Linked DNA regions of Homo sapiens: regions 2, 3, 4, 5 and 6 are each linked to region 1. Evidence: promoter capture Hi-C in 16 types of primary human blood cells and fetal thymus (Javierre and others, 2016). All regions are on one chromosome and are shown on one strand. Each heading gives the region's core, a stretch centred on a gene start or on the middle of the fragment in contact. The rest is flanking DNA. Distances are from core to core; before and after follow the strand shown. Region 1 holds the start of SLC39A6 (solute carrier family 39 member 6). Region 2 has its middle 3.0 kb from the start of ZNF396. Region 3 overlaps KIAA1328. Region 4 overlaps INO80C (INO80 complex subunit C). Region 5 overlaps FHOD3 (formin homology 2 domain containing 3). Region 6 overlaps GALNT1 (polypeptide N-acetylgalactosaminyltransferase 1).

The links. Contacts are between HindIII fragments. The CHiCAGO score rates a contact against its expected background, and 5 or more counts as called.
Region 2: a contact is called between a fragment that was not itself captured here and the fragment with the promoter of SLC39A6 in region 1, in 1 of 17 cell types (monocytes). The highest score is 6.7, in monocytes.
Region 3: a fragment that was not itself captured here is called in contact with the fragment with the promoter of SLC39A6 in region 1 in 1 of 17 cell types (total CD8 T cells); the score reaches 5.3 in total CD8 T cells.
Region 4: a contact is called between a fragment that was not itself captured here and the fragment with the promoter of SLC39A6 in region 1, in 1 of 17 cell types (naive CD8 T cells). The highest score is 5.5, in naive CD8 T cells.
Region 5: a contact is called between a fragment that was not itself captured here and the fragment with the promoter of SLC39A6 in region 1, in 1 of 17 cell types (erythroblasts). The highest score is 5.2, in erythroblasts.
Region 6: a fragment that was not itself captured here is called in contact with the fragment with the promoter of SLC39A6 in region 1 in 1 of 17 cell types (total B cells); the score reaches 6.0 in total B cells.

What each region holds. Positions count from the first base shown.
Region 1 is chr18:36,125,624-36,130,589 of GRCh38, reverse strand. It overlaps SLC39A6 (solute carrier family 39 member 6), which reads left to right and starts at 1,250. Exons shown (of 10, transcript NM_012319.4): 1 at 1,250-1,476; 2 at 3,574-4,371. The coding sequence starts at 3,583. It overlaps ELP2 (elongator acetyltransferase complex subunit 2), which reads right to left and starts at 691. Exons shown (of 22, transcript NM_018255.4): 1 at 519-691. The coding sequence starts at 656. RefSeq lists enhancers at 440-649, 441-946, 810-999, 1,030-1,324, 947-1,452. The HindIII fragment of the contact is 4,684 bases long and covers 1-1,772 here.
Region 2 is chr18:35,377,861-35,382,826 of GRCh38, reverse strand. No RefSeq gene overlaps it. Among named protein-coding and RNA genes, the nearest start is that of ZNF396, 3.0 kb to the right of the region's middle. The HindIII fragment of the contact is 1,256 bases long and covers 2,876-4,131 here.
Region 3 is chr18:36,837,207-36,842,172 of GRCh38, reverse strand. The region is part of intron 3 of KIAA1328; the gene reads right to left. Among named protein-coding and RNA genes, the nearest start is that of KIAA1328, 11 kb to the right of the region's middle. The HindIII fragment of the contact is 1,202 bases long and covers 1,266-2,467 here.
Region 4 is chr18:35,490,952-35,495,917 of GRCh38, reverse strand. The region is part of intron 1 of INO80C (INO80 complex subunit C); the gene reads left to right. Among named protein-coding and RNA genes, the nearest start is that of INO80C, 4.5 kb to the left of the region's middle. RefSeq lists enhancers at 3,898-4,559, 4,560-4,966. The HindIII fragment of the contact is 4,983 bases long and covers 305-4,966 here.
Region 5 is chr18:36,748,187-36,753,152 of GRCh38, reverse strand. The region is part of intron 24 of FHOD3 (formin homology 2 domain containing 3); the gene reads right to left. Among named protein-coding and RNA genes, the nearest start is that of TPGS2, 78 kb to the left of the region's middle. The HindIII fragment of the contact is 7,350 bases long and covers 1-4,966 here.
Region 6 is chr18:35,585,488-35,590,453 of GRCh38, reverse strand. All of the region lies in intron 1 of GALNT1 (polypeptide N-acetylgalactosaminyltransferase 1), which reads right to left. Among named protein-coding and RNA genes, the nearest start is that of MIR3975, 3.8 kb to the left of the region's middle. The HindIII fragment of the contact is 3,338 bases long and covers 1,191-4,528 here.

The DNA.
Region 1 (4,966 bases), core at 1-2,500:
TCCCCTATGACCTTTCCCCCAAACTGACACTTTCTCTAAAATGTCCATTCCCGTAGCTAAAACACAGGTAACATTTCCTTGAAATTCAATACAACAAAAGTTCATTAACCAAAACTGAAGGAAATACTGAAATGAGATTGCACCTGTGGGATGATGGTTTTAATCTACATATAAATTTCAATTGTTTTAAAACCCAAATTGATTAACGGTACTACAGTTCCCAAGGAAGGCTTCAGGTAAGATGCTTATCATTCGGGTTTCTGCGTGGGACTAACAGGTTACTAGCAGCTCATGGGCAGCAATGACCCTAGGATGACGCCACGCGTGAGACGGCAAAGGGTGAGGGGTGAGGAGCGAGTCCGGCAGGTCCACTGGAGACTCCGAGCCCAAACCCCGCTCCCCTGAGCCGACCCGACTCGCCTCCTAGGTCTGGGGCGGCAACTAACAGCGCGCCCGGAGCACGTCCACAGGTTCAACCCGAAAAGCACAAGGGTCGGCCGTCCAGCGACCTCTCTTACCAGGGGGTCATAGAGCACCACGGAGCAGGACGTGCCAAAGGCCAGAAGTCCTCTGGGCCCAGAGCTCCAGTTCAGGACTCCCCGCACCCGGTTTGGGCAGCAAAACACGTGAGAAGTCTCCAGCACGGGTGCCACCATGTCGCCAACTGGTCAGCCGCACAAACAAGAGACGCGCACTTCCGCCCTCGGAGCGGAACTACTAGGGTGGTTTCTCCTGAGGCATCACCCAGTCCACGTTTCGCAGCCAGCCGAGGGCCAGACGGAGGCAGCCCCGCCCCCCTGAGACTCTCCGTTCCCACCGCAGGCTGGAACCCCTGTGCAAGGCCGCCGCTTTGCTAGCTCTGCTCTTGGACCGTGGCCCCGCTCCGCGAACGAGCCAGGCCTTTGTCTCAAGAGCGAAATCCGACCCGAGTGGCTCGGGACCCTCCCGAAGGACCCGGGGCTCATGTGCCTGGGGCAGCGTCAGAAACATCTCGCTGCCCCTTACGACCCGGCTCCCAGCAGCAGCCAGGGCTGGCCCCGGGGGCGCTGGCTAGCGAGTAGGGCCTCGAGGAAATGACCCCCAACTGCTTACAATGCGCTAGGGCCGCGCCACGCCCCCGCGGCGTCGGCGAACACACGGAAAAGCGGATCCGTCTGCGGAGCCGGGTTCCGGGGTCGCACTGCGCATGCCCTGCAGTCCTGGGCGAAGGGGGCGGTGGTTCCCCGCGGCGCTGCGCGCGGCGGTAATTAGTGATTGTCTTCCAGCTTCGCGAAGGCTAGGGGCGCGGCTGCCGGGTGGCTGCGCGGCGCTGCCCCCGGACCGAGGGGCAGCCAACCCAATGAAACCACCGCGTGTTCGCGCCTGGTAGAGATTTCTCGAAGACACCAGTGGGCCCGTTCCGAGCCCTCTGGACCGCCCGTGTGGAACCAAACCTGCGCGCGTGGCCGGGCCGTGGGACAACGAGGCCGCGGAGACGTGAGTCTTTCAGGTCCGGGAGCAGGGCGGCTGGGAGGGGAGCTCCTCAGGCCAGACAGGCGTGGCGGGGTAGGGGTGGTTCTGCGGAGAACCGGATCCTGCGGACCGGGCAGGGGGGCTACAGAAAGAGGATGCTGGGGGGAGCCCGCCGCAGGCGCCCACTCACCCTAGAGAGCCGGACTTCTTAAGGTGCTCAGATGGGCTTCGGGGTGCAACGGAGGATTTTTTGAGGAAAAGATCCGTACTTTTCATCCCATATTCGAAGAAGGGACTGACGTGTTTAGAAATAAAAAGCTTTTAGAAGAGAGCTTTGTGCCCTCTTTTCCGTTTTCTGTACTCGCCTTTTTCTCTAAGGCCCTTCCCTTCTGCTTTCCTTTTTCCTCCAGCACACACCAACTTGCAGGAAAGGAGATCCTTCAACGGGTCCACGACCGCGCTCAGCATCCTCCCTGGAGAAAGGCTCGGAGCTGTCCCCTGTGCTAGTCCCCTCCCACCCCGCTCCTCGCCTCTCTCCTGGGAATGATTTCTAAATGTTTATCTTTTACCTAGTAAAAGAATTCCCGAAACTTCAAGCCCCAAAGATTCCTCTTTCAGGAGCCTCGTTCTACGCCGTACCTCCATTTCCCACTGTTCCCTGTATGATACCTCGCACTTGTGCAACACATGAGTTTAACGAGTACTTGTAATATACATTCCTTCATGTGTTTTCCTCCTTCGCCTTGCAAAATAGGTTTTACCGGTATTTTAGATAAGGTAATGAATGCGAGAGCCCTGTCCAAAGAACAGCTGACCGTGGTAGAGCTGGATAGCCCCATGCTCTTGCTTAGTTGTAAACTTGACGTCTGCGTCTTTTGCTGGAGATGTGAGTTTGACCACCATCACCTCCACCGTTGGTGCTGGACATCCTGCTGGATCTGAATTAACTGAATTCTGGCTCTGCTTAACTGAATTCTGCTTTTCAAGCTCCAACTCAATTGCTTCCTCCTCTTTGGGGCACAGGCCTTTGGTTCCAAACACTACTGTGGATGATTAACAGCCTGTGATTAAATGTTGACTGGTTTGTAGTAACACAAGGATGCTACAGTGAGTTTTTCATGAAGTTCAGTTTACTTTAAGAATTCTATGTATGGACATAATGTGTCTGATTCATTGTCAAGTCGGAAAAAAGATTCAATGTGTATTTAAAGTATACACTTATTTGAGGCTGGGCGTAGTGGTCACGCCTGTAATCCCAGCACTTTGGGAATTGGAGGTGGAGGATCTCTTGAGGCCAGGAGTTCAAGACCAACCCGGACAACATAGTGAGACCTCGTCTCTAGAAAAAAAAAAAAAAAACTTTAAAAAAAAAATTAAGTATACATGTATTTGAGTATGCATAGAAAATATCCTGAGGGATACACTGGCAAAATTGAGCACCTTTGAGGATTGTGATTGGGGAAAGGGGTCTTAAATGGGCTTGTATGTAAGGAGAGTGTATTAGTTTAAAATTTTTTAAATATGTGAATTCTGAGATTATTATTTCTATTTTTTGGTGTTTGAAGGTTATTTTATGAAATGATGGTGATGATCAAGGTAGCTAGATTTCATTTCGTTCTTTTTTTTTTTTGAGACAGGGTTTCACAATGTTGCCCAGGCTGGTCACAAACTCCTGGCCTCAGGTGATCTGCCTGCCTCAGCCTCCCAAAGTGCTGGGATTATAGGCATGAGCCACCACACCCAGCCTAGATTTAATTATGAATCATTGGCCTCAATGATTCAAATAATCGTTCAAATAAATTCTCAACTTCAGTAAGCAGTTGATGGCTGTGGCCACATGGATCTCCCTTGTCTCTGAATTACTATTGCTTTTACAGTGCTAATGGCAGTCTCTTAGCACTCAGCTCTTCTCCAGTTGTTTCATGTGTTTTAGGAATGCAAGGGTAGAGCCTAGGACTCTAGTTCTTTCCATCTTCACAGTACCTAGCGTCACACTGGTCACACCACATGATGCTCTGGCAACTTTGATTATTTGATTACACATTAATTTTCAGTATGAGGTTTCTTAATTCAATTTGTTTTAGAAGTGAGTCAAGAATTTTTTTTTCCTGTCTTTTCTAGGAAGGCGCAATGGCGAGGAAGTTATCTGTAATCTTGATCCTGACCTTTGCCCTCTCTGTCACAAATCCCCTTCATGAACTAAAAGCAGCTGCTTTCCCCCAGACCACTGAGAAAATTAGTCCGAATTGGGAATCTGGCATTAATGTTGACTTGGCAATTTCCACACGGCAATATCATCTACAACAGCTTTTCTACCGCTATGGAGAAAATAATTCTTTGTCAGTTGAAGGGTTCAGAAAATTACTTCAAAATATAGGCATAGATAAGATTAAAAGAATCCATATACACCATGACCACGACCATCACTCAGACCACGAGCATCACTCAGACCATGAGCGTCACTCAGACCATGAGCATCACTCAGAGCACGAGCATCACTCTGACCATGATCATCACTCTCACCATAATCATGCTGCTTCTGGTAAAAATAAGCGAAAAGCTCTTTGCCCAGACCATGACTCAGATAGTTCAGGTAAAGATCCTAGAAACAGCCAGGGGAAAGGAGCTCACCGACCAGAACATGCCAGTGGTAGAAGGAATGTCAAGGACAGTGTTAGTGCTAGTGAAGTGACCTCAACTGTGTACAACACTGTCTCTGAAGGAACTCACTTTCTAGAGACAATAGAGACTCCAAGACCTGGAAAACTCTTCCCCAAAGATGTAAGCAGCTCCACTCCACCCAGTGTCACATCAAAGAGCCGGGTGAGCCGGCTGGCTGGTAGGAAAACAAATGAATCTGTGAGTGAGCCCCGAAAAGGCTTTATGTATTCCAGAAACACAAATGAAAATCCTCAGGAGGTAAGATGAGTGCTGTTCATTATTTTAATATACCTGTGTGTCTGTCCTGTCTCTGCTACTCTATCTCTAGTTATGAGGAGTTTAAAGTAAAAGTAAAATGTTGAAGTTATTGAAAAGGGAATTTCCACCTTCTCAGCAAGGCACTTGCCACAAAGCATGCCTGCTATGTTGTAAACATTCCCAATTCAGAACTTAGGGAACAGTTCTTTTGGTGAGCGTAGTGCTGCCTCCTACAATTTTTTCTAATACAGAATATAAAATATGTAGAGAAAGATATCAAGGCTATCTTTAGAGAAAGTCTATAAAGGTGAACATTATTAATAAAAAATAGAAAATGAGGGGTTGAAAGCAGGAGTTAGAATCCATATTGTAGGGAAAGGTGTGACTGAAGGGGCTGAAGACTACTGAGAATACCACTGCTGCCTCCTTGACAGAAGGTCCACCATGACTTGAGGAATGATTGAAATTGGAGCAGTTTCCATGAATGTCATGCTGGACAAGGGAAAAGTTGGGACAGTGAGGTTCTGAGTTCATGTGGTTTTTCTAGAGTAGACTTCCAGACTGTACGTAATTCACCTTGGCTGAGAGATGTCAA
Region 2 (4,966 bases), core at 2,254-4,753, 750 kb after region 1:
AGGTGTCTAGTGGTTACCACGTTGGGTACACAAAGAGCCACAGATCATGGGTTAAAATTCCTCTCAAATGCTTGTCTTCTCAAAGATTTTTTTTCTTTGAGACAATTCTTTATTTAGCAAATATGGAGACTCTCCCCATTGGCTGCTGTGGTGGGTTAAAAAATGGTCTCAAACGATATCAGGTCCTAATTCCTGGAACATTTACAAATGTTTACATCACATTTACCAATGTTACCTTATTTGGAAAAAGAGACTTTGCAGATGTGTTTAAATTAAGGGTCTTGAGATGGATAGATTATTCTGGATTATCTGGGTGGGACCTAAATGCAACCACATGCATCCTTATGAAAAGGACGTAGAGGGAGATTTGAAGATGTTGGCCTTGAAGATTGGAGTGATGCAGCCAGAAGCCAAGGAATGCTGACAGCCAAAAAATGCTGGAGGAAGAAAGGAATGAATTCTCCTCTAGAGCCTCCAGAAGGAGGACTGCCCTGCATGCTGTCACTTTAAGCCCAGTGAAATGGGTTTCTGACTTCTGGCCTTTAGAACTGTGAGGAAATATATTTCTGTTGTTTTAAGCCACCAGATTTGTGATAATTTGTTGCAGTGTCCACAGGAAGCTAATACAAGTGCCCACTGAAATCACCTGGGGAGCTTTAGCTACATTATTTCATTTAATCTTCAGATTATTATGATCCCAATTTTATAATCAGGAAATAAGGATTAGAGAATTTTAGGACTTAACCCACAGTAGCTTGCGGCAGAGTTGGGGAGTGAACCCAGGTTTGTCTGTTGACTTTGAGACCACATTGGATTTCATAAACAAGGGAAAGAAAAATGTGTAAGATGACTCCTAAGACTTACTGCCTGGAACATAGAGCTAACAGCAGTTTCACTATCAAAGCAAGGAATTTGGCCTATTGAGGGTGATGGAGAGAGAAGATGAACTCAGTTTGGGATACTTCCTGATATGGTTTGGCTTTGTGTCCCCACCCAAATCTCATTTTGTAGCTCCCATAATCCCCATGTGTTGTGGGAGGGACCCGGTGGGAGATGACTGAAGCATGGGGGCGGGTCTTTCCCCATGCTGTTCTCATGATAGTGAATGGGTCTCATTAGATCTGATGGTTTTAAAAACAGGAGTTACTCTGCACAAGCTCTCTTTTCTCTTGCCTGCTGCCATCCACGTAAGATATGACTTGCTCCTCTTTGCCTTCTGCCACGATTGTGAGGCCTCCCCAGCCATGTGGAACTGTAAGTCCAACTAAACCTCTTTCTTTTGTAAATTGCCAGTCTCAGGTATGTCTTTATCAGCGGCGTGAAAACAGACTAATACACTTCCTTAATTGTTTTCCCAACTTGATACTTTATTCACGTCTTCCACTAAGGGAGAGAGAGCTCCCCTAGTTCCCTCACACAAACTCTCATATCTGTTCACTGTGTGAAAAAGAGTCATTCGAAATCTAAGCTGCTAGAACTCTAAATTATTTTAGGACTTGGAAGAATGTTATTACTGATCCTGAGTCACATGGTAGGCACCTATAAACTAGGGAGCTATAACCTTCTGTTTCTCTGATTACAGATGAAGCCTTTTCCCTTACCTGCATTGTTTTGTAAAATGTTATATATGGCCAAAGGGAAGAGGAAGACCCCTTCCCTCTCCACTGTTGGCCTTTATTATAGATTCACCTTTCTCTTACCTTTCTCACACACAGACTTCTTGACTATCACATTGACTTAAGATAGAATGTTAAATACACTCTTTTAAATTGGAAACCAAATGAAAACCAACTATAAAGAAAACAAGCTATATGGAAAAGAAAACAAACTAACTAATTAATTTGTTGAAACTATTAAGCCAGCCTTGTATAGAAAATGTTGCAATCCTGATAAATTTCTTTGTCTTCTTCCTATATTAGCAAGATTTAACTTTTAACTTTGGAGCACTGATCCCATTTCTCTGGAGTCTGTGTGTCCTGGAATGGCTATTCCCAGCTTTTTGTTTGAATAAACTCTTTAAAACTGGATTCTGACCCTTTTATTATTTCAGGTTGACAAGTGTGTACCCACACTTGGACTCCTACACATACAACCCATCCACCACTTGCTTGGAAACCATAGTTCCATTGTAGGCAAATTGCTTTTTATTGCTCAATCTAAATTTCTTTTTTTTTTAATTTTAAAGTTTTTATTTTTGTTAATTTTTTATTTCAGTTTTGGGGTACATGTGGAGGCTTGTTATACAGATTAACTGAATGGGGGTTTGGTGTACATATTATCTCATCACCCAGGTAATAGGCATAGTGGGTAGTTTTTGAACCCCGACCCCCCACTCAAGTAGGCCCTAATGTCTATTATTCCCCTCTTTGTGTCCATGTGTACTCAATGTTTAGCTCTCACTTATAAGTGAGAACATGCAGTGTTTATAAACCTAAGTTTCTTTTTTTTTGAGACAGGGTCTCATTCTGTTGCCCGAGTTGGAGTGCAGTGGAATGATCATGGCTCACTGCAGCCTTGACTTCCTGGGCTCAAGTGATTCTCCCATCTCAGCCTCCCAAGAAGCTGAGACCAAAGGTGCATGCCACTATGCCCAGCTAATTTTTGGTATTTTTTTGTGGAGATGGGGTTTTGCCATGTTGTCCAGGCTAGTCTCGAACTACTGGGCTCAGGCAATCCTCCTACCTCGATCTCCCAAAGTGCTAGGATTACAGGCATGAGCCACCATGCTTGAGCCAACCTAAATTTCTTAACCTTCTAATTCCTTATCCTATAGAAACATGGCAGCTGTGTATAATACATCCACTTCATGCACCTCGGGTCAAAAAAAACAAGGGTTATGTGTTTAGACAGACACAGATCCATGCCCCTAAAAGCTTCTACCTAGGTGGAGAGCAAATATGTTGGGATGAAGGGAGTGGTGAAGAGTACAAAGTTGAGAAATAAATGTCTCTATAATGTCATTGTAGAGTGATTGCCTTAGAAATGGTTCATAAAAGTCATAGAGATCTTTACATACCTATATAAGGGAAGCATTCAGATATAAAACATGTTTGATATTTATTTTCACATGATCACACAAAATGTCCAATTATGTGCAGTTATTGATGATAGCATCCCATTCAGCTTCTGATCCAGTCTACCCAAAAATCCCCTCAAATATCCACATAAGCCATTGTCAAACATACTCTGTTGTTTAACTTCCCTGAATGACACATTATGTACCCAATCATCTGTCAGTCTTCCATCTAAGCAAGCACCAGCCTCCCAAGTGTTTCCAGAATCTGCCTCCATTCTCGTCCCCTCTGTGCTAGTTCAGACCTTCACCAGCTGCAGCCTGGATCTTTGCAACAGCTTCAGAGCTGGTAACCCTGTCTTGAGTTTTGCCTCCCTTCAGATCTATCCTTCGTGTTGCTATCAGAGAGCCCTACCTGAATTGCAGATGTGCACATGCCACTAATTCAAGTTTCTGCTTAAAACCTTAGTTCATAGCCCTTTACTTGGCCTGTCAAACCCTTTAAAACTAGGCTGCTGTTTGCCTCTTCAGCCTCATCCTCAGCCACTCATCCTGCTGTCCTTTAATCCAGCAAATCTAAACAACATCCCACACTGGTACCTCAGTCTCAAATGTATCAACACCAGCTTTCTCCATCAACTCCAATCCCAGTCTCTACCCAGGACCTCCCTTTCTTTGTGCTTTTATAGTATCCTGCAGTTGTCTCCATCAGAATGTTGCCACATTGTTTAGAAAAGTCAATTTATTCATCTTTCTCTTTACTTAGTCTATTAGCCCCTAAAGGGCAAGAATCTATATTTTACCATTGAATTCCCGGTGTTTACGATACAACTGGTATATAGTAGGTGCTCACCCTACTGGGACCTTATTCCTGCTAATTTCTTTTCACTTTACCCCCAAAATTTTTAAAAAATTAAAACAGCAAACAAAAACCTGTTCTTGCTCTAACTACCTGACTGTGAAACTTTTCTAATCAATCTTTTATGTCTGCTCCCTTTTTTGTTGTTGCTGTTTTTAACTTTGGCCTCTGATATCTGGCTGTTTGGTGGACCATACCCATGAATTCATCATCCCTGACCTCTTGCCACATCCCACAGTTCCTCCTTCTCCTTGAAGCTTCTGACTGTCGTTCATATTCTCCTTAAATTGTCTCCTGTGACTTCACACCACTGCCAAGCCTTGCCCTCGTTTCAAATTCTCCCCTGACGTGAGTCATTTAACCTACCCTACCCACCAGCGCCAGAAACACATTCCCACCTGCACTTTTGGGCTGTTTGCTATTTGTGTTGGCAGCTGCATCAGCAAAAAGTCTTATCCTGTGAAAGCCCCTTGTTTGAAGCAAGAATTTCTTCAGATTTAGTTTTACTGTACTCTAATTGGGATCCAAACCTCTCCCTAGTCCCCTAGCGTCATAAACTGAGTAAACCAGCCTCTTCTTTCTTCACTTCAGATTCCAGTACTAACATACTTTTGGGGCGGCGTCATACCAAAAGGGATTTTTTGTTATTGTTCTTTATTAATTAGCAAGTGCTTTTCAAGCATCTCCGTCCTCTCCCTAATTCCTCAGTTACGAGTACAAGTACATTTTCCAGGAGTCCCTAGGGAAAGGGGCTAGAGAAGGAAGTCACGAGGTGGGGCTGTGGTGCATTTAGGCTTAAATTTATTTATTTATTTATTTTTTGAGACGCTCTCACTTTGCAGCCCAGGCTGGAGGGCAGTGGCGCAATCATGGCTAACTGCAGTCTCCACCTCCCCAGATTGAGGTGATCCTCACCCCTCAGCCTCCCAAGAAGCGGGGACTACAGGCATGCGTCTCTACACTCGGCTAATTTCTGTATGTTTTGTAGAGATGCGGTTTAGCCATGTTGGCCAGGCTGGTCTCGAACTCCTTGGCTCATGTGATCTGCCCATCTCGACCTCCCAAAGTGCTGGGATTACAGGCATGAGCCACCG
Region 3 (4,966 bases), core at 617-3,116, 710 kb before region 1:
GACTTATTCTGCCCTCTCATCCAGTTCTAGAGATTGTGGTTGTTTCTTATAGTTACTACTTTCATGATACTTTAATGTTCCCTTTTTGCCTTTTTGGTTCTCGCACTATTCAATAATTTTTCTTTTAAATATTCTAAGTTAAAATAACTGACTAAACCCCGAGACGGTGAAAAGAAATGAAATATAACTACATACAACATAAAGAAATCTCACGTAACATTGGAAGAGCCATAGAGGGAAAAAAAAACAAGAAATCTCATAAACATAATATGAAATAAAAAGCAAATCACACAATACAAATGGATATGAGCTCATTTATATAAAGTTCCAAATATATATGAAATACTGTTTCAAAAAAAATGTATTTACACTGTAGGACAGGGCTTGGTAAACCATGGCTGCAAGCCGAATCTGGCCCACTGGCTGTTTTTGTAAACAAAGGTTTATTAAAACGTGCTCATTCATTTGCATATTGCTTATGGCTCTTTTAATGCTACTGTGGCAGAGTTGAGTTGTTGAGACAGATGTTACAGCCTGCAAAAGTTAAAGTATTTACTACCTGTCCAATTTATAGAAAAAGTCGGCGAACCCCGATATGGAAAAACAAAAGAATTATAAAGTTCAGGATACGAATTACCAAAGAAGAAAACATGATGAGGAAAGGCCACATATCTACAGTCACTTGACTTACAACAATGGTATCATTGCAATTCAAAGAAGAAAAGAATCCTCTTCCCAGTAGATGGTGTTGGGCCAATACTGACAGTCTATTGACCCAATACTGGCAGTCTATGGGCCCAACACCATCTATTGGGAAGAGGATTCTTTTCTCTCTGAATTGCAGTGAATCTTACTTTACACTACATGTGCATATTACTTCCTGATGAATAGTAGGCTTAACTGTAAAAAATAAAGCAATATGGCCACAAAAGAGAGAGGGAACTTGCTGCAGAGTATAATCAGCTAACAGCCTCCAGTTGCCAAACCTTTGGGATCCACTGCACTGTTCATACCAACACCAATGACTGGGAACAGTAGAGACACTAGAACTGAGCTATTTCTGATCCAAATGGCATCCTCAAAAGGCAGTATTTGCTCTGGGGTTCCTCACTAGCAAAAAGGACACTTATCTCAGATTGCATGGCAATCTGAAGTCTGAGGTTCTTCCTAGTCAATCTTCCTTCTTTTCCTCTCCTGTCACAGGTGCCAGACTGTAGTGAAATCTGAAGATTCCTGCTCATTCTACTCTTTATGCTTTATAAGCTTTTCCTTCATTAAATCTCTTCCATTTCTAATTCCATCTCGCGGTCTGCTTCCCAGAAGACTTGAACTGACCTAATTACCACTGTGAAATCCTTAATGAATTAAGGATACTCAACATCAATACCAACAAAGACTACACAGAGAAAAAAATCACAAGATGGCTGGGCACAGTGGCTCATGCCTATAATCCCAGCACTTTCGGAGGCCGAGGTGGGTGGATCACGAGGTCAGGAGTTCAAGACCAGCCTGGTCAACATAGTGAAACCCCATCTCTGTTTATACAAAAATCATCTGGGCATGGTAGTGCGTTCCTGTAATCCCAGCTAGTTGAGAGGCTGAGGCATGAGAATTTCTTGAACCAGAACCCAGGAGGCAGAGGTTGCAGTGAGCCGAGACCATGCCACTGTACCTGGGCTACAGAGCCAGACTCTGTCAAAAAAAAAAAAAAAAATCACAAGACATGCTCTTCAATGGAAAAAAGGAAAAGAAAAAGCAAACCACCATTTCTAGTTTTAAGAAAAAGCACACATAGACACATATACCCCCGACAATGTAGGACATCCTCTTCTAGCCCAGATGGAGTAACAGGGACCAGATTTACCCTAGTTTCAGAAAACAAAACAAAACAAAAACCTGACAAAAAAACAGGAAACAATAGTTTTCATTGGATAGCAGGCAACACAGAATGATCACTGGAATTGCAGAAACAAACAAGGCGAGCCCTACAACTGTCCCAGCTAACTGCTGTGGAGAGTTTTCAGGGCTAAGGTAGGTAAATCCAGACAGAGCCCAGCAATCTCCCTGAGTTGAAAAGATACAGCTGGGAGTCCAGGAAAGCCAAGGTTTCTAGTGTTTGCAGAAACACTAGAAACCTTGCAGGGCAAAGTAATGCCAAGGATAGAGCTGCATAGGAGAGCTCCAGGGATCTGCAGAATCCCTTCGCGTCAACTACTGAGCACTGACCAGCATATGTATGTGAGAAAACTACTCATCCCGGGGAAAGAGCCCAAAATGAACAGTGGAAACAATTTCTGTAGCTAATACAGCATAGGAGAACAGTCTGTTCCCACCAGCCAGAGGGGAAAACCTTGTAATTTAAGGGGCATCAGGAAGAGTATTCAAAAGAGTATGGCCTACAATGGGCAAAATTACCCCTATACTAAAAGCTGCTCTGGCACCACCTTTAAAAGCTCAAAATGAAGCTTGGAAAGAATCAAATTGCTTCCAAATAATTTATCACTGTCTCAGAACCCAAAAAGGCAAAATGCATACTGTCTTGTGACATCCAATAAAAGACAACCAAGCAGGCAAAGAAGCAGAAAAATACAGCCTATAATTAGGAGAAAAATTGCTCAATTGAAACCTATCCACAAATGACTTGGATGATAGAATTCATAGTCAAGAATATTGAAACAGTTATTATAACTATGTTCCATATGTTCAAGAACCTAGAAGAAAGCATGTCAAGTAGCGACATGGAAGATGTAAACAAAAATAAGAGACTGAAACTGAACTTCTAAAGATAAAACTACATTGTTTCATATGAAAAACACACTGGATGAGATTAGTGGCAGATTAGACATTGCAGAAGGTTAATGAATTTGAAGACATAGCAACAGCAATACAAACTATCCAAGGATAAACAAAAAAATTTTTTAATGAAAAAAATATGAACAGAGGATCAGAGAGCTGAGAGGGTAACTTCAAGAGGCCTAGTATTTGTGCAACTAAGGTCACTAGAAAGAGAGGGAAACAAAAATATCTGGAGAAACAATGGCTGAAACATTTCCCAATTTGATGAAAACTATAAACCCACAGTCCCAAAAAGCTCAACAAACCTCAAACAAAAGAGATACTTTAAAAATTACTCCAAGGTAGGATGGGCATGGTGGCTCACACCTGTAATCCCAGCACTTTGGGAGGCCGAGGCGGGCAGATAATGAGGTCAGGAGTTCGAGACCAGCCTGACCAACATGGTGAAACCCCATCTCTACTAAAAATACAAAAATTAGCCGGGTGTGGCGGTGCACGCCCGTAATCCCAGCTACTCAGGAGGCTGAGGTAGGAGAATCACTTGAACCTGGGAAGCGGAGGTTGCAGTAAACCAAGATCGTGCCACTGCACTCTAGCCTGGGCGACACAGCAACTCTGCACCTCAAAAAAAAAAATTACTCCAGGGTATACTATAACCAAATTGCTCAAAACCAGTGATAAGAAGAAAATCTTAAAAGCAGCCATATTTAAACACATACACACAGAAAAATAAGGAGGAATAAAAATGACAGCCAACTTCTTAAAAACAATACAAGCCAGGCAACAGTGCAGCAACATCTTTAAAGCACTGAATGAATAAAACTATCAACTCAGAATTTTATAACCAGCAAAAATATCTTTTGAAAAGGAAAGAGAAATAAAGACTTTTCAGACATACGTGAGCTGAAAAAATTCTTTCCTAGCATACCTGAACTAATGTTAAAGGAAGTCTTTTAGGAAATCTGGATACACGTGAAAGAATGAAAACACCAGAAATGGTAACTACATGAGTAGATTTAAAAGACTTCTGTTGCATTTGTAAAATTTCTTTAAAAGGCAATTAAAATAAAATGCATCCAAAATGGAATAAAGGCATCCAATAAGAATATGTGAACTATCTCTATTCACAGACAACTTCATCTTATATAGAGAAAATGGTAAGGAATTCACAAAAGAACTATTAGATTAGAAATAGTTTGATAAAGTTGCAGGATACAAGATCAATTCACAAATCAACTGAATTTCTATATACTAGCAATAAACAATCCAACAGTGAAATTCAGAAACAACTGTGTTTCTAATAACATCAAAAAGTATAAAACATTTGCTGATTCTATAATGCCTATGGAAACACTGGGACCCAAAATAGCCAAAACAATCTTGAAAAAGAAGAAGTTGGAGGACTTATACTTCCTAATTCCAAAAATAAAAATATAAATCAATGGAACAGAATACAGAGAGTCCAAAAATAAACCCTTACACTTATGGTCAACAGATATTTGACAAGGGTGCCAAGAAATTCAAAGGGGAAAGGACAGTTTTTTTAACAAATGGTGCTGGGACAACTGGATATCTACATGCAAAGGAATAAAGTTAAACTACCACCTCACCCCATATACAAAAATTAACTCAAAATGGAATGAGAACTAAATGTAGGAGTAAAACCTTTAAAATTCTTAGAAAAAAAATAGGCACAAATATTTGTGACCTTGGATTAGGCAACAATTTCTCAGATATGACACCAAAGCAAAGGAGACAGAAGAAAACACTAGATAAACTGAACTTCATCAAAATTTTAAACTTCTGTGCTTCAAAGAACACCAATAAAAAAGTGAAAAGGCAATGCATAGAATGAGAAAAAATATTAGCAAATAATGTATCTGATAAGGGACTTGTAAATGGAATTTAGAAAGAACTCATAACTTAACAGTACTAAGACAAATAACTCAGTTAAAAAAGGATATGACTAGATATTTGTCTGACGAAGATACACAAATAGCCAAGAAGCACATAAAAACATGCTCATCATCATTTAGTCATTAAGGAAATGCAAATCAAAATCACATTGAATTACCACTTCACACCCACTAGGGTGGCCATCCTCAAAAAAGATGGACATAAATGTTGGCAAGAATGTGGAGAAATCTGAATCCTCATACATTGCTAGTCG
Region 4 (4,966 bases), core at 1,547-4,046, 640 kb after region 1:
ATGATATCAATCACTTTTCATGAGCTTGTTGGACATTCCAGATCTTTTGTGGAGTGCCTAATTATTTTTTTCTAATTGGCTTTTAAAAAAAAATTATATTGATGTGTAGAAGTTCATTACATTATCTTTCTTGATTAGACTCCTTTGCCAGATGTATGTATTGTGAGTAATTGCTCCCAGCCTGCGACTGGTGCGTTTTGATAACCAGTTGTGCCAGGACCAAGGAGTGTCACTAGGACATATGGGTAGGAATAATTGTTTTGACCCCAAAGGGATTGTTGATCAACTTCCACTACCACAAGCTTCTGAAAGTGGTCAAATGCCTTCAGGAGACTGGAAATTCCCAGTAATCCAATATGGTGGAAATCTTAACTCTCTATTCCCTCTGGGCCTTTTTTGTATCCAAGCAGCAGCCTCAGGAGAAGCTGGAAAGGGCAGAGCATTTCATGAAATAGTGCCTTCTTTTGTCCTGACTCTCCTTTTCCCAACTGATATTTACTAAAGAAGACAGGGTCTTCTTCTGTCACCCAGGCTGGAGGACAGTGGCACAATCATGGCTCACTGCAGCCTCGACCTCCTGGCTCAGTGGATCCTCCCACCTCAGCCTCCCAAGTAGCTGGGACGACAGGTGCATGCCACCATTGTATTTTTGGTAGAGGTGGAATTTCACCACATAACCCAAGCTCGTCTCAAACTCCTGGGGTCAAGCAATCTGCCCACATTGGCCTCCCAAAGTTTAGGGATTACAGGCATGAGCCACTGTGCCCGGTTGTCTTAGATTTTTGCCTTGCTGTGATCCTTTCATTCTAGTTCCCTTTTCACAGCGTATAGGAAATAAGCAGGCATAAGCACAGTACCCCTGAGGGCTGCCAGGAATCTTCTTGAGGTCACCCTCATCTGTGTCACTTGCCCAACCTTTCTGTTCTGTTTCAGTTCAGTTCATGTAGCAGTAATTTATTGTACTGTTTCTGTTCCATCCCCAGCAGTATGCTTAAGACATTTCAAAGGATTATAGCTTGTCCCCACACTACCAAAAACATCCCAGGAGAGAATGACGTATATACATTGTGTTTAGTTTTCTACTGCTGTCATTACAAATTATCACAAATTTAGTGGCTTAAATAACACTCATTTAGTAGCTCATGGTTCTGTAGGTCAGAAGTCCTGACACAATGCAACTGGGTTGACTCTCTGCTCTGGGTATCACAAAGCTGAAATCAAAGTGTTAGCCGAGTTCTTGTCTGAAGGCTCTGGGGAGAAATTTGCATGCAGGTGAATTCAGGTTGTTGGCAGAATTCTGTTCTTTTGGGGCGGCAGGACTGCAGGGCCCCTGTCTTCTTGCTGGCTGTCAGCTGCTGCCCGTGTTCCTTGCCACATGGCGTTTTCCATTTTCAGAGCCAGCTATGGAGAATCTCCCTTGTGTCCAATTCTTCTCATGCTTCAGATATTTCAGACTTCTTTTATTGCTGACCCCTGGACTCAGATTTAAAAGATTTATGTGATTAGGCAGGCCTACTTGGATAATCACCTTTTTTAAAAGTCAGCTGATTTGAGACCTTAATTACATCTGCAAAACCCCTTTGTAGCTGCACCTAGATTAGTGTCTGCTTGAATAACTCGGAGAAATTGTGTGCACACCAGGGGCAGAGTACTTGCAAGGTAGCAGGGGTGTACTGGAATTCTACCTATCACACAAATGAAACCATTAGGAAGATATAGTAATGTCTAACCTTGAGCCAAAGCTAATTATAGGTAATTATAGGTGTTGGTGCCCTATTGTGGTGAGACACAGGAGGATGATTCCTCAGTGCTGGTGATGGTACTCAAAGGAGAGGTAGGGAGGCAGAGGGACTTGAAGTTGGCTTGGAGAGGTTTGCTGGAGAAGGCATTCCAGGTTCAGAGCTGTGCTCATTGTGAGATTAACCCAGGTTGCCCAAGGTTCCCTTAGTGGGGAAGTGAGTGTTTTTCTATAAATGATTGTATTTCTTGAGTTAGAGGAGATTTTATAGGTCTTTCATCACGTAAATTTCCCTACGTCAGTAATTTTAGCTATTTTGATTCTTAAGTAAAGGCAAAGTATGTAAAACTTTCATGGAATTTTAAAATTTACAAAGCACATTTACGTGTAGGACATTAGAGTGCCTTTTGAGATTGTTAAAGATAACTTGAATTATCATGGATTCTTAAGGTGGGTTTAACTTTCCTGAAATATGCTTGCTGTTTCTAAAGTAAAATTGAGTGCTTAGTTGAAATTTAAAGAAGTTTAGAAATTTAGATGCTTAGAAGTCCTGAGGAGTTGAAGGGAATATTTTTCAGCTAAAAGTATTCTGAGAAAAGCATTTATAGAAGCCTTCTTTACATCAGTGTTAGGAAATACTATTAAATAATTTAGTAGTACAAAAACAACTTTGTTTTATCATTTCATCAAGATGGCTCTCTCTAGTTCAGCAGAAATTACTACTAATGTTCATGCTTGCTAAGGGGTGGTACAAATCATCTTAGAATCACAATTCTGTGGATTTATATTTTCACTATAACAGTTGTTGATTAATAATGTTATGAAAGTGCAGTCTTCCATTCACTCTGGTTGTTACTTTGAAGGGATTAATTTTGGTGGGTTGGGGAACAGATAACTGTTAAAGTGAAAGGAATAAGGATAAATAATAGTAATTAATATTTATCAAGCATTTACTACATGCCAGGCACTGTTCTATGTACTTTCTAAGTACTATGTCATTTAATTCTCCAAACGACCCTCTGTGAATTGATCACTTCATTTTACAGATAAAAACGCCAAGAGCATAGAGAGACTGTGTAACTTGCCCAAGCTCACACAGTGTTAGTGTCGGGATTCGAACCCAGGCATGCCGTCCAGAGTCTACATTCTTTTTTCTTAACTGCCTCTCTTGATATCACTCTGTTACTTTGTATATTAGAAGATTATTAATTAGATCTCTGGTATAACCAAATTCATGGTACAGAGAAATGCTTTTGGCAACAGTTTTACTGAATCAATATAGGGTAATTTAGGCTTTTCAAATGTGTATTAAAGTTGATAAAATGTACTGAGAAATCTAATTAACCTATAGACTGAGAGTTACTTAATAGCCTCTTCATTTGTGAAGCAGCTAATAAAACATCTAAAGTGGAGAGGCAGTAGTTGCATCTTTAGGAGGATAGGGCAGATAATGAGAGAATCTTCTGTAATTGGAGGGGCAGCCAGATAATGCTGGACTGATTTGGTTTATTCATTGAAAAAATAGTCATCCTACTATTCAACTTTTGTAAAACACAAAAGTAAAAATTCAACAAATCCTGATAATTTTAAGTCTTAAAAGTTATTCTTTTCTATTTTTAAAATTACCTTTTTTTTCATTTTTAAAATTGACATAAAAAGTCACCCAATCTCCTTCCCCAACAACTATTATAATTTGTGTTTTCTACATGTAGATACAGTTTTTCATCATTATATTTGGTATATAGTATTACGTGCCCCGTTTTTCACTTAGCATTATTTTGTGAACATTTCTATGTGTTGATAGTCTTCTCAATTAGACTTTTAAAAGTCAAATAGTCTTTTATGACTATTGACTGCATTATATTCCAAGGAATTAACTACTCATATTTAATTGACTTTATTATTGGATATTGAGGTTGCATTTTGAATTTTTGCTGTTTTAAGTAACCCTATAGTAACCTTGCAGTTTTAGACCAGGGTCAGCTATTTGCATCTATAATTCTATGACATAGATATAACTTGACATTTGACTTTTCAGTAATAAGACAAAGGATATTTTTCTCCTTTCTTTGTAACCACAGACAGAATGTCCAAATTATCCTTTAGTCTGATTCAGAGTCAAGCACACTACTGTCTGGAGAGATGAAGCCATTGATTTGGGTTCTTCAGTTGGGCAGAGCAGAGCAGGGCGAGACCCAGGCCTTGTGAACTCCAGTCTATTAGCATAGGCGTGTGTTTCCTGAGTAGCAGGCTGGATTTCTCTTCCCTGAGACTTACATCAGCTCTGTTAGTGCTGCAAAGAGGGGGCGCCCCTTAGTGCTAGGCGTTCCTTCCTCTCCTCTTAGGGTGTTCATATCTTGGGGCGGGACAGTTCATCTTGTAAAGTCCTTAGTGATAATAGTGCTTTAGTAATATGGAAATGATGCATCATTTTAATTTTATCTTATTGCATCCAAGCCTCACAGACTTGATCTTCCCTTTGACTAAAGGTCTGTCTCCCTCTCATCCTGTTGTTAGTAGACACAGGAGTCTCAGCTAGGCTAAGGGTGTAGTAATGTGGGGGTCGGGGGAGAGGAAAGTGAAGCATAAAACCAGCTCTGGCCTGGGGCAGGGGTGTCTCTGGTTAGAGAAGGAAGGGAGCCTGCCACAATCTCAGAAGCAGGAGGCAGCACTGGTATGATGTGGCTCAGTTCACTCCAGGGTGGCTTCCTTTCTCTGCCCTCTCTTCAGCCTGACTTCCCAGCGGGGGTCTGGCAGAGGATGGAGTGAGCAAGCCGGCAGGAGGGGTCCCTTTCAAAAACCAGTGCTTCCGTGTGTCATTTTCATCCTCTTCTTGACTCTTCTCTAGCTTGCTGCCTGGAATGGCTGACTTAGACCTCTGGTCCTCTCTTCATTACCACCCTCTCCTTACTCTCAGCAGACGTGCTTGTCTGCCTGAATCTAACGAGGGCCCCTGTCTGGCATTTTTCTCCCCTGTCTCCCTGGGGCCTTGGAACTAAACGCCTATGTCAGAAGAATCCCCCTGTATTGCTTTCCTTTCATTGGGCACACAGCACCTTTGAGCTTCCTCACTGGGATTGGGGAAGTGGAATAAACTGAAAAGGAGAAATAACAGTATTTGGCCAGGCGCAGTGGCTCACACCTGGAATCCCAGCACTTTGGGAGGCCCAGGTGGGCAGACCACTTGAGTCCAGGAGTTCGAGACCACTGTGGGCAACATGGTGAAAC
Region 5 (4,966 bases), core at 1,231-3,730, 620 kb before region 1:
TGTTCCCCATGTGTAGAATGTTTTCCCTACTGACAGCTGCATGGATGGCTCTCACTCATTCCACAGGTCTCTGCCCAAAATACCACCTCCTCCGAGAAGCCTTCCATGACCACCCTGTGTCAGGTCACTACCTAACCATTTATACTCTTATTTTTTCTTCCTGGCTGTTATTACCACTTGACATTATATATTAGATATATGATATGATATTAGGATAGGACAGTACAGTATAATATAACAACTATTCAAGATCTGTATGCAGGAAGATTTGAGGGGAGAATCCATCAGCCTGCAGCTAGCTAACCACTTCACCTCATTCTAATAGATTAACATTCTGGGTCCTATTTTATACATAAGTACAACCCAAGATTCTTTATCCTACACTTTCTAGAGCATTGTTTTTGGATGCACAGGGAATCCAAACTTAACATATAAATTGGAAATGTTATTTAAGCATGTATTTTACAAACAAGGAGAGTAACAACAAACAAGTAAAGGTCTGAAAAAGATCCAGATATACATTTGAAAAGAGAGAAACTATGGTATTCCTTCAGAAGAACAAAAAGGATATGACTTTGAGGCCATAAAACTTTTAAGGAATTTTTTTCAGTTGAGTTTGTAACTTTTAGAATACATGATATGAAGATTGTATGGTTATGGGCAGGCTGGCCCCCCTAACCAGTAAGCCAAAGCACAAGTCAAACATCTTTGATTTGTTCCATCATCTGACTCTTACTCAAGCCTGCCACTGTCTAGCCCAGAATGGGAGGGGTGGACTTTGGGCAATGGCACACCAGTCTTGGTGTTTACTTGTCTTCTGCCTGTCTCTCCCCCTTGAATGGCAGTCCATTGCTGTAGTTTGCTAGGCCTCCCAGGAAGGCTTTTGATATGGTTTGGCTGTGTCTCCACCCAAATCTCATCTTAAATTGTAGTTCCCATAATTCCCATGCATTGTTTAGGGACCAGGTGGAAACAATTGAATCATAGGGGGCGGTATCCCCCATCCTGTTCTTGTGAGAGTAAGATCTCACGAGATCTGATGGTTTTATAAGGGCTTTCCCGCTTTGCTTGGCACTTCTCCTTGCTGCCGTTATGTGAAGAAGGACGTGTTTGGTTCCCCTTCCACTGTGATTGTAAGTTTCCTGAGGCCTCCCCAGTGGTGCAGAACTGTGAGTCAATTAACCTTCTTTCCTTTATAAATTACCCAGTCTCGGATATGTCTTTATTAGCAGCATGAGAATCGACTAATAACAGCTTTCTTCTCTTCCTCTCCCCAGTCCCTCTCTGTGCCTTTCACAGTGCAACTGTAGCCTAATGAATCTACAGGAGTGAGTGGGTGGGTCTGTACATCCAGAGAGTACAAAAGGATAAAAGGAAAGGTTAATATGCACGTTTAAGAATTAAAGACAAAACCCACATTATTATCTCAATAGACACAGAAAAGGCTTTCAATAAAATTCAACACCCTTCATGTTAAAACACTCGATAAACTAGGTATTGAAGGAACATACCTCAAAATATAATAATAAGGGCCATCTATGACAAATCCACAGCCAATATCATACTGAATGGGCAAAAGCTAGAAGCATTCCCCTTGAAAACCAGCAGGAGACACGGATGCCCTCTCTCACCACTTCTATGCAACATAATGTTGGAAGTTCTGGTCAGGGCAATCAGGAAGGAGAAATAAAGCGCATTCAAATAGGATGAGAGAAAGTCAAACTATCTTTGTTTGCAAATGACATGATTCTATATCCAGAAAACTCCATCATCTCAGCCCAAAAGCTCCTTCAGCTGATAACTTCAGCAAAGTTCCAGGATACAAAATCAATGTACAAAAATCACTAGCTTTCCTACACACCAACAACAGTCAAGCTGAGAGCCAAATCAGAAAGGCAATCTCATTCACAGTTGCCACGAAAAGAATAAAATACCTAGGAATACAGCTAACCAGGGAGGTGAAAGATATCTACAATGAGAATTACAAAACACTGCTCAAAGAAATCAGAGATGACACAAACAAATGGAAAATATCCCATGCTCATGAATTGGAAGGATTAGTGTCATTAAAATGGCCATACTGCCCAAAGCAGTTTACAGATTCAATGCTATTCCTATCAAACTACCAAAGACATTCTTCACAGAACTAGAAAAAAATTGTTTTAAAATTCATATGGAACAAAAAAAGAGCCTGGATTACCAAGGCAATCCTAAGCAAAAAGAACAAAGCTGGAGGCATCACACTACCCAACTTTACAATATAGGGCTACAGTAATTGCGACAGCATAGTACTAGTACAGAAACAGGCACATAGACCAATGGAACAGAATAGAAAGCCCAGAAATAAGGTCACACACCTATGACCATCTGATCTTTGACAAAGCTGACAAAACAAGCAATGGGGAAAAGACTCTCTATTCAATAAATGGTGCTGGGATAACTGGCTAGTCAAATGTTGAAGATTGGACACTTTCCTTACACCATATACAAAAGTCATCTCTAGATGGATTAAAGACTTAAATGTAAAACCCAAAACTATAAAAACCCTGGGAGACAACCTAGGCAATACCATCCTGGACATAGGAACAGGCTGACAAAGCAATCACAGCGAAATTTACCAAAAGCAATCACAATGAAAGCAAAAATTGACAAATGGGATCTAATTAAATTTAAGAAGTTCTGCACAGCAAAAGAAACTATCAACAGAGTAAACAGATAACCTATAGAGTGGGCGAAAATTTTTGCACACTATGCATCTGACAAAGGTCTAATGTCGAGCATCTTTAAGGAACTTTAATTTACAAGAGAAAAATGAACAACCCCACTAAAAGTGGGCAAAGGACATGAACAGACACTTCTTTTTTTGAGATGGAGTCTTCCTCTGTCTCCCAGGCTGGAGTGTAGTGGCACTGTCTCGGCTCACTGCAAGCTCCACCTCCCAGGTCATGCCATTCTCCTGTCTTAGCCTCCTGAGTAGCTGGGACTACAGGTGCCCACCACCATGCTCAGCTAATTTTTTGTATTTTTAGTAGAGACAGGGTTTCACCGTGTTAGCCAGGATGATCTTGATCTCCTGACCTCGTGATCCACCCACCTTGGCCCCCCAAAATGCTGGGATTACAGGCGTGAGCCACCATGCCCGGCCCCGAACAGACACTTTTTAAAAGAAGACATACATGTGACCAACAAGAATATGGAAAAAAAAAAGGCTCAACATCACTGATCATCAGAGAAATGCAAATCTAAACCACAATGAGATACCATCTCACATCAGTGAAAATGGTTATAATTAAAAAGTCAAAAAATAACAGATGTTGGTGAAGTTGTGGAAAAAAAGGAACACTTATACTCGGTTGGAGGGAGTGTAAATTAATTCAACCATTGTGGAAAGCAGTATGGTGATTCTTCAAAGAGCTAAAAGCAGAACTTCCATTCGACCCAGCAATCCCATTACTGGGTATATATATACCAAGAGGAATATAAATCATTCTACCAGAAAGACACATGCACACGAATGTTCATTGTAGCACTAATCACAACAGCAAAGACATGAAATCAACCTCAATGCCCATCAATAACAGATTGGATAAAAAAATGTGGTACATATACACCACGAAACACTATACATCCATAAGAAAGAACACGATCATGTCTTTTGTGGGAACATGGATGGAGCTGGAGGCCATTATCCTTAGCAAACCAACACGGGAACAGAAAACCAAATATCACATGTTCTCATTTATAAATGGGAGCTAAATGATGAGAACTTATGAACACAAAGAAGGAAACAACAGACACTGGACATGAAGGTGGAGGGTGGAAGGAGGGAGAGGAGCAGAAAAGATAACTATCGGATACTGGGCTTAGTACCTGGGTGATGAAATAATCTGTACAACAAACCCCCATGACATGAGTTTACCTATGTTAACAAACCTTCACATGTATCCCTGAACCTAAAATAAAAGTTAAAACAAATGCAGGTTTGAACATCCAAAACAAAATTTTCTTAGCCAGGAAACAGTTTCAAAAAGTAGGTTTTACCCAAAGAGACACCTTTTGAAACTTTTTGATCTGACATCAAAATATAAGTATTTAGGCAGGCTCATTTGCATGACTAAGATGATCCCTCTGGTTACCAGCTGTAAGGCCCTGAATAGGGTCCTTTCTGTGCCTCAGTTTCCCAATGTGTTAAGTTTAAAAAAAAAAAAATCACAGCCATCCTCAGCTATGATCCTGAGGACTGTTGGTGGGAGGGGGAAGGAAAAATGAGGCACAGTCCTTGGGGCTCTCAGTCCTCCATCTCAATTTCAACAAGAGAGTCCTGCTTTAATCAGTTCTACATACAGCGCTCCAGCTAAAGACTTCATTTGAACACAGGGTTCTACGGTTTAGATACTTTGGACTGGCCACTTCCGGGTACCACCTCCCTTTAGCCACGCCCCTTTTACTACCCACACCAAAACCACAGTGAACTTCTGGCTCCTCCTGGTCATCCCCAGTAGGATGTGGACAGGTGAGGCGGGAGCAGCCATCATCTGGGTGACCAGCTTACCAAGGAGAATGGGATAATCAGAGCAAATACTTTATAGCTTAAGAAATAGACACACCACCAAACTGAGTTTTTAATCTGTCTGGGATAAAATGGTTAACATAACCAAGCTCAACAGCTTTATAAGACATTCATAAAATTACTCCAGTTTCATGACGTTCCAAATAATAGTTGGTTCTCTCTCCGTGTGTGTGTGTGTGTGTGTGTGTGTGTGTGTGTGTTGTGTGTGTGTGTGTGTGCGCGTGCGTGTATTTTAAATGGGGAATTGCTTGCATCATACAAAGCATGGAGGGCCAAACCAGCTCACATTCCCTGCCTCTTTGATTTCAGTAAGAAATCTGACAAAATATCCTAAAAGTTCCCTTGAGGAAGGAAGGACAGCCAGAAGGTCTAGATAGATAGTCAGGGAGATTTATA
Region 6 (4,966 bases), core at 1,610-4,109, 540 kb after region 1:
AGAAGTTTGTCCTATACTCAAGGCTGTCAATCAAAAGATTAACATACTGGAAGCCAATACTTAGACATCTTTACAGAATCAAAATCAATCATATGTTCTCTAACATTAGAAGTCATAAATTACAACGAAGGATTTAAAGGAGTCTCATAACGATTTATAAGAATTTATAATTTGTAAAAATTTATAAGAATTCTAAACACTGAACAACAAATGGATCACTTGAAATCAGAGATGCACTCTCAACTCTCATCACCGCTGCTACATCTGCCCTCAAAACAATCCCAAACATCCCTCCCCATTAAGGACTAAAATGGGCTTCACATTGAAGGTGTCCCTACAAAAATCCATGGAAAACAGCAGAGAAGTTCAACTGAATGGCTAATCACTAGTCTATCATTTTAAAAAGAATCAAGCAGTAACACTCCAGGCAGTGCTAGTCAAAGTCTAGTTCCTAGATGGCAAACTGGCACTCACCTAGTCCATGAGGAGTAAGGAGAGAGGGTGAGAGCAAGCATTTAGAAACTTTGGTAGCAATTTGACAGATAAATGTTACATCTACTGAATCCAATAATTTTTGAAATGGAAATTATATATTGTGGTTTTTAATTTCATTTTTCTTGCAATTCATATTTTACACATATTAGGAAAACATCAGCCCATGAAAAGAAGAAATGTTACAAACTGATCCTTCGGGGATATTCAATTCCAGGAAGATGAAGCAGATGTATTTTCCCTATTCCTCCCACTAAGCACAACTGAAAACTCTGAACATTACATATAAAACAAACATGAGAAGATTCTTAACTGTGGAGAGAAGAAGGCTAGGGACCTCAGGCTGCAAGGAACAATAAAATGGTGAGTTCCCTGAGACTTATTTTTGCCTCATATATCCCAGCTTTCTGGAGTTGAAAATGGCAGCAATCTGAAACCTGGAAACATTAACAGAAGCAGAAGGGAAAAAAAGTCAAAAGACCAAGAAAGGGACATCCTACTGAGACAGAAAACTGATAGGAAAAAAACCACTCTACTCCAGACAAACATCACAGAAAAAAACTGTAGCCTTACCCCGACCCATGCCAACAAAGGTCAGGTGGGTAGCCTAGACTTCACGTACTCCCCGGGTTATAATAAGGCACCCACTTCCCACACACCAGGGTGGTGTTGAGAAGGCCAAGTAGGGAGCCCAAGCTTTCATTTACATCAGCTGGTAACAAGGCACCCTTCCACATACACCCTCTCCCCCGGATATCCTGGACCTCTACTCCCACCTGGTGGAAACAAGATACTGTACCTCTTGGGTCAAGAAAGGCCAAGTGGGGAGCCTGTACTTCTAATTTCCTCTAGTGATCACTAGACAGTGCCATGTGCCCTCCCCACCAACCTTCCCCCGCCAGGGTGGTATCAAAACAAAGCGAGCTAAAACAGAAGGCTTAAGTAAGATCCAGAATCTCATAGTATAATATAAAAACACCCAGGTTTTCATTTAAAAATCACTCATCATACCAAGAGCCAGGATGAACTCAAACTGAATGAAAAAGACATCAGGAGGCAGCAACACCAAGAAGAGAGATGTTAGAATTATCTGACAACAATTTTAAAGCAGCTGTGATAGACATGCTTCAATAATTACAAGCATGCTTGAAACAAATTAAGAATAAATAAACAAAAAGCCTCAACAAAGAAATACAAGATATGAAGAAAAACCTAAAGCAAATTTTAGAGCTGAAAAATACCAAAATAAAAAGACTCAGCAGCAGAAAGGGAGGGAAGGACACAGGAAAGGAACTGGAAGACAAGAGCCCAATATGAATAAGAGAGAAATGGACTAAAGAAAAATTGACAAAGCCTCAAAAACATGTGGAATCATAACAAAAGACTGAACATTCCAGTCATCAGAGTCTTGAAAGAAGAGGAGAAAGAGGGCAGGCTGAAAAAGTACTCAAAAAAGTAATGGTGAAAACTTCCTAAATTTGGCAAGTGACATAAACTTACAGATTTAGGAATCTGAGTGAACCCCAAGCAGTATAAACCCAAAGGAATCCACACCGAAATGTATCATAATAAAACTTTCGAAAACTAAAGACGAAGAAAAAATCCTGAGAACAGTGAGAGAAAAACGATTCCTTTCTACAGAGGAAAAATTATTAGAATGACAGTGGATTTCTCCTCAGAAACCATGGAAGCCAGAAGAAAGTGGTATAATTTTTTCAAGGGCTGAAAGAACTATCAACACAGAGTCCCATAACCAGAGAAAATAACTGGCCTTCTCTCTCCACAGTTGATAGAATGCCTTGACAAAAACAAGCAAAGACACAGAATTCAACAGCATCATCAACCAACAGGATGTAAGAGCAGAAAACACATTTCATTCAGGGGCCCACAGACAGACCATATTCTGGGCTGTAAAACAAACCTCAATAAATTTAAAAGAACTGAAATCAGAGTGTGCTCTCCAACCAAAATGGAATCAAACTAGAAACCGAAAACAGAAGATGAAAGGAAAATTTCCTAATACTTGGAATCTCAACAGCCCTCTTCAACATACCATGGCTCAAAGTGGAAGTCCCAAGATAAAATAAAAACAGACATTGAATTGAATGGAAATAAAAATAAAACAAAGGTGTGGAACACAGAGAAAACAGTGCTGAGAGGGAAACATTGCTAAATGCCCCCATGAATCTAAGTGCAAAATTCCTTAACAAAATATTAGTAAATGGAATTCAGCAACATATGTACAAAAAGTGTTATACTGTGACCAAGTTTCATGCCATGGATGTAAGGCTGGCTCAATATTTAAAAAATAAATCAATACAATGCACCATATTGACAGGCTAAAGAAGAAAAATCACATGATCAGATCAACTGATGAACAAAAAACACAATAAAATTCAACACTCACTCATGATAAAAACTCTCAGGAAGATAGGAACAGAGAGGAACTTCCCTAACTTGATAAACAGCATCCATGAAAATCCTATAGTTAACATTATACCTCATAGTTAAGGACTGAAGGAATGCTTTCCCCCAAGATCACAAAGACTGTCCTTTCTCACCCTTCTTATTCATCATAGTGCTGATATTTCAGCCAGTGCAACATGGCAAGAAAAGGCAAGAAAAAGTGTGCAGATTAAAAAGGAAAAGAATAAAATTGTTCCTCTTTGCAGGTAACATGGTAGTCTGCATAGAAAATCCCAAGGAATCTCCAGAAGAACTCCTAGAACTAATAAGTAGGTTCAGCAAGATTGTGGAATACAAAATCAACATATGAAAGTTAATTATATTTCTACATACTGGCAATGAGTACATGGACACCAAAATTAAAAATACCGTTACAATTACTAAAATATAAAAAGAAATATTTACTTACAAATGTAACAAAACAAATCCAATAAAAACTAACAAAACATATGTACAGGACTTGCATGATAAAACTACACAATGCTGATGAAAGAAATCAAGGATCTAAATAAATGGAGAGACAACCTGTGTTCACAGATTGAAAAATGCAACATACATACTAAAGACGTCGATCTTCTCCATACTGATACAGGTCTACTGCAATTTGTATCAAAAGCCCAGAAAGACCTTTTTTGTAGATATAAACAAGATTATTCTACAATTTATAAGGAAAAGCAAAGGAACTAGAACAGCTAAAATAACGGGGGAAAAAAAGTGTAGGAGGAATCAGTCTACCCCATGCCCATGCCCACCACTCCCAGCTCCAAATGCTTTTTTACAAAGATACAAAGGCAATTCAACGGAGGAATGACAGCCTTTTCAAGGAATGGTGCTGAAGTAACTGAACATCCATAGACACACGCATAAACACACACACAAACACACACACAATTTTGACCTAAATCTCAGCTTCATAAACTGGATCATGTAAAAACCACAAAACTATTAGGGAAAAAAAGCACAAGGGAAAAATCTTCAGGATCTAGGGCTAGGCAAAGAGTTCCCAGACTTGACACCAAAAAGAATGATCCATAAAAAAATAAACTGAGAAACTGGACTTCAACAAATTTAAAACTTTTGCTCTGCAAAAGACCTTATTAAGGGGATGAAAAGACAAGCTACAGACAAACAACATACCCAACAAAGGACCAGTATTTAGAATATATAAAGAATAAACAAGTCTCAAAAGTTAATAGTAAAAAGGACAAACAATCCCATTAGAAAATGAACAAAAGATAGTTCCCTGAAGAAAATATACAGTTGACAAATAAGCACATGAGAAGTGTTCAACATCATTAGCCTTTAAGGAAATGCACGTTAAAACCACAATGAGACATCCCTATACACCTATCAGAATGGCTAAATGGTGACAGGCCAGGCGTGGTGCCTCATGCCTGTAATCCCGGCACTTTGGGATGTTCCAGCCATGCTAGAACATTTTACAAAACAGCTCACCAGTTTTTTAAAAAACTAAACATGCAACTGCCACACAACCCAGTAAGTGTACTCCTGGGCATATATCCCAGAGAAATAAAGACTCTGTTCACACAAAAACCTATACACAAAAGCTTACAGCAGCTTTATTCACAATAGCCAAAAACTAGAAACAACCAGATGTTCAACAGGTAAATGGTTAAAAGATCCGTAAAAGTACATTCATACTATGGAATATTACTTAGCAATGAAAAGGGAGTAATTACTGATACATGCAACAACCTGGATCAATCTCCAGAGAATTATGCTGAGTGAATAAAGCCAATTCCAAAAGACACTTATCCCATTTATAAAACATTCTTAAAATGGCAAAATTACAGAAATGAACAAATTAGTAATTGTCAGAGTTTAAGGAGGGGGTGGAGGTAGAAGGGTAGTAGGTGTGGCTACAAAAAAACATAAGGAAATCTTGTGGCCATGAAAATTTTCTCTATCTTGACTGTTTCAATGTGACTATTACAGGTCTGGAAATTGTACTATAGCTTTACAAAATGATACCATTGGAAGCAACCAG